2 separate regions of the Homo sapiens genome follow, and region 1 is linked to region 2. Evidence: promoter capture Hi-C in human tissues and cell types (Jung and others, 2019). All regions are on one chromosome and are shown on one strand. The core of a region is centred on a gene start or on the middle of the fragment in contact, and the rest is flanking DNA. Distances in the headings are between cores, read along the strand shown. Region 1 overlaps LOC107987282 (a long non-coding RNA gene). Region 2 holds the start of WFDC6 (WAP four-disulfide core domain 6).

The links. Contacts are between HindIII fragments. The study calls those that stand out against the background at their distance.
Region 1: a fragment that was not itself captured here is called in contact with the fragment with the promoter of WFDC6 in region 2 in 12 of the 25 tissues and cell types used here (H1 embryonic stem cells, IMR-90 fibroblasts, adrenal gland and 9 more).

Annotation. Positions count from the first base shown.
Region 1 is chr20:45,489,957-45,492,821 of GRCh38, reverse strand. The region is part of intron 1 of LOC107987282 (a long non-coding RNA gene); the gene reads right to left. It also overlaps the pseudogene RPL5P2. Among named protein-coding and RNA genes, the nearest start is that of WFDC2, 22 kb to the right of the region's middle. The HindIII fragment of the contact is 6,084 bases long and covers 1-2,865 here.
Region 2 is chr20:45,538,065-45,541,133 of GRCh38, reverse strand. WFDC6 (WAP four-disulfide core domain 6) reads left to right here and starts at 1,652. Exons shown (of 3, transcript NM_080827.2): 1 at 1,652-1,817; 2 at 3,040-3,069. The coding sequence starts at 1,727. It overlaps EPPIN-WFDC6 (EPPIN-WFDC6 readthrough), which reads left to right. Exons shown (of 5, transcript NM_001198986.2): 4 at 3,040-3,069. EPPIN (epididymal peptidase inhibitor) reads left to right here. Exons shown (of 4, transcript NM_020398.4): 4 at 1-508. It overlaps LOC107987282 (a long non-coding RNA gene), which reads right to left. Exons shown (of 4, transcript XR_001754641.3): 3 at 2,455-2,598; 4 at 747-1,059. It also overlaps the pseudogene HSPD1P21. The HindIII fragment of the contact is 28,992 bases long and covers 1-3,069 here.

The DNA.
Region 1 (2,865 bases), core at 303-2,802, 48 kb after region 2:
CCACAAGGCCCTTATTCTCTGTGCCCATGCTACCTCTCTGACTTCAACTCACCTCAGGCTCCTGACCACTCATTCACCCCAGCCATGCCAGCCTCCTGGATGATCCCCAACACCCTGAGAACACTCTGACCTCAGGTCCTTTGTTCTGGAACTCTCTTCTCTCTAAATTCCTCTTCTCATGGGTTGTCACGCAGCTCATGTCCTCCTTCACTGAGTTCACTACTTGAATAATACTTTAAGACCTTCCCTGACTACTTTGCAAAGTAATCACCCCCATCTCTACCCCACCCCCAGACTCACTATTCCTCTTACCTGTGTATTTCTCCATAACTTTTCCTCCACCTAACATGTTATATATGTGTTAGTTCATTTATTTATTGGCTATCCTCTCCACCGCACACACACACACACACACACACACACACACACTCTTTTCCTTCTATCAAATCCCCACCACCTAGAATAGAACACATAGTAAGTGCTTTATAAATATTGAATGAGTGAATGCCTCTGCTGATGTTGTTTCTGGGGCAGGACCTTCCCCTCCCTGACTGGTCTGTCTTTAGAACTTTATTTTCTAAGCTCCAGCTCACTCATGTAACTTCTTACTATCGCTCCAACCCCAAACCTGCACTTTCCTGCAGAGAAGATGTCTGTTTCCATGTAGGTATTACCATACATGGCTTCCTGGGCTGGGGATGGCCTTTAGAGGCATCTGCAAAGCAGTTTGCCATCGGAAATGGGAGAAAATAAGTGCGGGAAGAAGCCCTGCCCTGACGTCTGGAGGGGCAGCTGGGCTGAGTGGTTCTGTGAGGGGCCTTGAGGTTGGCTGTCCCATCTCGATCCACCTGTTTACTGGGATTCCTGGGCCCTGGGAGCTGTTCTCCTGGCCAAAACTAAGCTTTGCTGTGGTCTGCCTATATCAAGTGTGGCCCATCAAGGCCTGGAAGAGGGGGAAGAGACCAGTCTGGGACCCTGTCCTTTTTCCTTCCCCCTTTCCAATCACAAATCTTCAGAGTCCCCAACCTACAGCATTCACTTGGCTGCAAAAGTTGATCAAAGAATGATCGTAGGGCTTCCGCCTTGCCTGGCCCCCCTTGCACGCTGCAGGTCTGTGTCAAGCCATGGACACAGCTCTCTGTTCCGGAGGATGGAGTGTGTTAAAATTGTTAAGAGTAAGGCCTACTTTAAGAGATACAGATGACATTTAGAAGACCAGTGGGTTAAACTGATTACTATGCTCAGACACACTTGGTAATCCAGGATGAAAATAAGTAGAACACACCAAAATTCAGGATAGTTCATGCAACTAACAGAGAGATCATTTGTCATATGGTTTTTGCCCACACAGAAGGGAATATGATTGTCTGCACAGCATATGTTCATGAATGTCTAAAGTGTAGCATGAAGGTTGGCCAGCCAGATTATGATGCAGCACATTGTACTGGCCTGTGCTGACCCGAAGGCCCCTCAATAGTCTTGGCATGGACAACACCTATGAAGGTCAAGTGGAGGTGAGCAGAGATGGGTATCACATGGGAAGCATTGATGGTTACTTGGTGCCTTCACTTGCTACTTGCCAGAACTACCAACGGAAATAAAGGTAGGGGGGCCCTGAAGGGAGGTGTGGATTGAGGTTTTCTATCCCTCACAGTTACCAAACAATTCCCTGGTTCCAATTCAGAAAGCAGGGAGTTCAATGCAGAAGCACATCCTGGGTCAGAAGATCGCAGATTATATGCATTACCCAATGTAAGAAGATGAAGATGTTTACAAGAAACAATTTTCTCAATACATAAAGAACAACATAACTCCAGTCATGACGGAGAGACATGTAAGAAAGCTCATGATGCTGAACAAGAGAATCCAGTTCACGAGAGGAAGCCTGGGGAAGAAGTTAAGAAAAGGTGGAACCATCCCAAGACGTCCCCTGTCCAGAAGAAAGACTGAGTAGCTCAGAAGGCAAGTTTTCTAAGAGCTCAGGAGCAGGCTGCTGAGCGCTAAGCCAAACAACTATTTTCTTGTCTTTTCTTTTTCCTTTTTCTTTTTTTTTTTCAGAGACAGAGTCTCGCTCTGTCACCCAAGTCAGAGTGCAGTGGCACAATCATAGCTCACTGTAGCCTCCAACTCCTGGGCTCAAGCAATCCTCCCCCACTTGGCCTTCCAAGTACTTAGGAATATAGGCACGTTCCACCACGTCTGGCAAATAGTCATTTTCTATAAGATTATTCAGATAAAAACAATAAACTTATTGACCAAGCAGCTTAAAAAAGAAAATTAAAGGAAGGGTCTCAGCCAGAGGTTCTGCCTCGTCTAACCCACCCCTGCTTTCTTACCTGCCCCATCCCACCTCTCAGTCCTCCTTCCCTGGTAGCTTCTTCCTGTGCATTACTGAGATCCCTGGCAACTTCCACCTCATCTTCTGCAGGAGGCCTCTGGGCTAGGGACCCCTTGAAAAAGCTTTACCCCCTCTTAAGCTTCTGGTGGAGGGCCTGAGGTCCCATCTCCTTTGGACCCCTGCTCAGGGTCCCCTGTGCAGTCTTCTTACTCAGTAAAACCTCAACTGCCAGGTCTGACTTTTCACCATTAGCATTTTATTTCTTGAGTTAAATCAGGGGTAGCAAATCTATCTATCAACCCCAATCAATGGGCAGCTGTAGCAGCTGCCTGGAGCCCTGTGCTGAGGGCTCTGTGGCCACACATGGGCTAATGGAAAGGAGCAGCAATCATGTGATATGGGTGCTGGTGGAAGAAATGATGGCATGTGGACACCTTTGCCATCCCTGGGTTAGACATCACCCTGCCTGGGCCACTCTTTCAGAATGCAAACCTGTAGAAGGACAGGAGAAAGTGGAGCTAGTGGTA
Region 2 (3,069 bases), core at 403-2,902:
GCTTCATCCATGTCCCTGCAAAGGACGTGATCTCATTTCTTTTTATGGCTGCATAGTATTCCATGGCATATATGTACCACATTTTCTTTATCCAGCCTATCGTTGATGGATATTTGGTTTGATTCCATGTTTTTGCTATTGTAAATAGTGCTGCAGTGAACATACACATGCATGTATCTTTATAAAAGAATGATTTATATTCCTTTGAGTGTATACCCAGTAATGGGATTGCTGGGTCAAATGGTATTTCTGGTTCTAGATCTTTCAGGAATTGGCACACTCTCTTCCACAATGGTTGAACCAATTTACATTCCCAACAGTGTAAAAGCATTCATGTTTCTCCACAGCTTTACCAGCATCTGTTGTTTCTGGACTTTTTAATAATCACCATTCTGACTGGCATGAGATGGTATCTCATTGTGGTTTTGATTTGCATTTCTCTGATGATCACTGGTGTTGAGCTTTTTTTCATATGTTTGTTGGCCGCATAAATGTCTTCTTTTGAGAAGTGTCTGTTCATGTCCTTTGCCCACTTTTCAATGGGGTTGTTTGTTTTTTTTCTTGTAAATTTGTTTAAGTTCCTTGTAGATTCTGGATATCAGACCACAAATTTTCTTAATCTGTCTCCAGTGATGGGAAAGCTAAGCTATTTGTCCACTGATTCCCAACGCCCACTGGATGCCAGGGATACTAAATCCCTCGCTCTTTCAAACTGTTATACTTGCAAGCTATACAAGCTCCCTGGGGGCCAGAGAAAACCCACAGCAGAAAATTAGGGACTGATGCTAGAGGTAGGAGGCTGTCAATGTGCATTGGCTATTATTCGGCCATAAAAAGGAATGAACTTCTCACTCACCACTGATGACATGCCTTGCTGCACACACACCCTGCTGCCACCCTGCAGAAATGCTTCCATTACCCACAGTCCTTTGCCAGATGGAACTGATGCCCAGGTAACTGGCTCCTCACCTCCTTCGGGCTTATACCAAGGATATAAAACTTGGTACAGATGCTCAAGCGTTAATGCTTCAGGGTGTGACTTTTAATCCAATGCTGTAGCTGTGACAACAGGGAAAAACGGAGAACAGAGTTGGAGAAGTCCCAAAGTAATGAAAGAAGTTATTTACTGTTGCAAAATCAAACGACTTAAAGGATAAATGTAACTGATCTTTACATACGAAAGAAGAGAGAGGGAAGTGAAGGGCGGGGAGAAAGAGACTCAGACAGACAGAGACTCCCTGAGAAAAAGACAGGCACAGAGTAAAAGACATACAGATGCACAGAAAAGAGAAGAAACAGAGTGAGAAAAATAAAACATAAGAATAGACATGTCAGGAGAAGAGTGAAATTAGAAAGAAGGAAGAGAGCTAGCATACTGTTAACCTGCAAACTCCCCCTGGGAAATGGAAGACTCTGGAGTTAAACCTCCCCTTCTGCTAAGGGAGCCTGGAAAGCCCAAGACAACATGTGCCCTCTTTCCCTGGTAGACCAGAAAGCCTCAGATTGCTGAGGATTAGGAGCCACCTATCCCCCAGTGTAGGTACCAGGTAGTCCCACTGATGGCCTCAGGGATCTGGTGTTCCTGATCGGGGAGTCTGGCTGGCTTGTCTCCAGGGCTGTCTCTTAAGGTGCTGGGCCACACCGGGGCAGGCAAAGTGCAGATGTAGGAGCTGCTGAGGAGCAGTTCTTAGTTTTGGTGCCATCAACCAGGCCAGTACTTCCTAAAATGGGACTCTCAGGACTTCTGCCAATCCTGGTACCATTCATCCTTTTGGGGGACATCCAGGAACCTGGGCACGCTGAAGGCATCCTTGGCAGTAAGTATTGGGAACTCCGTCCTTGCAATGGGGAAAGGAAACTCAGTGGGGAGGAAGGAACAAAGAATAATTTTGCAGCTGAGAAATTATTTTCTCCACCTCTGCCTGGAATTCCAGGTGGGAAAGAGGGGAGCTATTTGAAGTCTCTTGGTAAGAGACTCCCTTGGTGAATACAGGCATCCAAATCTGTGGCAAGTGACTCCTTGCTGCCATTCCAAAGAGTTCTTCCTGGAGGTGCCTGGACCTAGAGCTCATGAAATGAACTAAGAAGGAGTAGTAAGCCCAAGGAAGTCTCCCACAAGAAAAACAGGCTGCTCCCCACAACACCACCTGTGTCAACTTCCAAATGTTCTCATTGCAGCCCCCACACCCATACCCACAGAGGACCCTGGTCTTTGGGTTAAAGAATGGTCTCCAGAAGTCCCTTGGAATGCTGAAATGTGAAGACTCACAATTAGCAGCTAACTGTACTGGGCACTGAAAATTAGTGGTTGAAAGTGAGCACTCAGGAGCCACACATTGTAGGTTCAAACCTGGCTCCACCCCTGAGTAGCTGTGTGATCTTGGGCAAATTCACATAATCTCCTTATGCTTCCAATTCTTCTGTTTACAAAATGTGAATATTAAGAGTACTTACCCATAGATTTGTAATGAGGATTAAGGAGAAAAGGCAGCTCACAGTAAGTGCTTCATCCATATTACTCATTGTTACGTTACATTGCCCCAGGCAGTTTGACGATGGCTTGTCAAACTGTGTTGCTGGTTAGTCTTCAAAGCAACCCTATGGGCAAATGAGGAAATCAAGGCTCAGAGAGAGTGCCTGGCACACCAAGCGTCTCACAGAATTCAAAAGCCCAGCTATCTGATGCCAGAAATGTTAATCTCAATCATCGAGAGCCACAGCACCTCCTGGGGGAGCAACCAAGCACAGCAAGGCTGAGTGACCAGAACAGTCTTAGAGGAATGCGTCTTTCTCTCAGGAATCTCATAGATGGTGCGGGTAGGGGGTAGGGGTTGGTTTAGGCATCCGATGGTGAGTTGTTATGGGGTTGGGGATGTGAGCAGTGTTGTGAAATTCCTGAGCCCCCTGAGGGCCACTACCTTCTGGGGATAGGTGAAGTGGAAACAAAGTTCTCTAACTCTGGAGGGGTGCCCTGGTCTCGGGGAGGGGGAGCACTGGCTCCTTTAAGGCCTTGAGGGAATATATCTTCCCCTCCCTTAGAGCCGTGTCCCAAAATCAAAGTGGAATGCG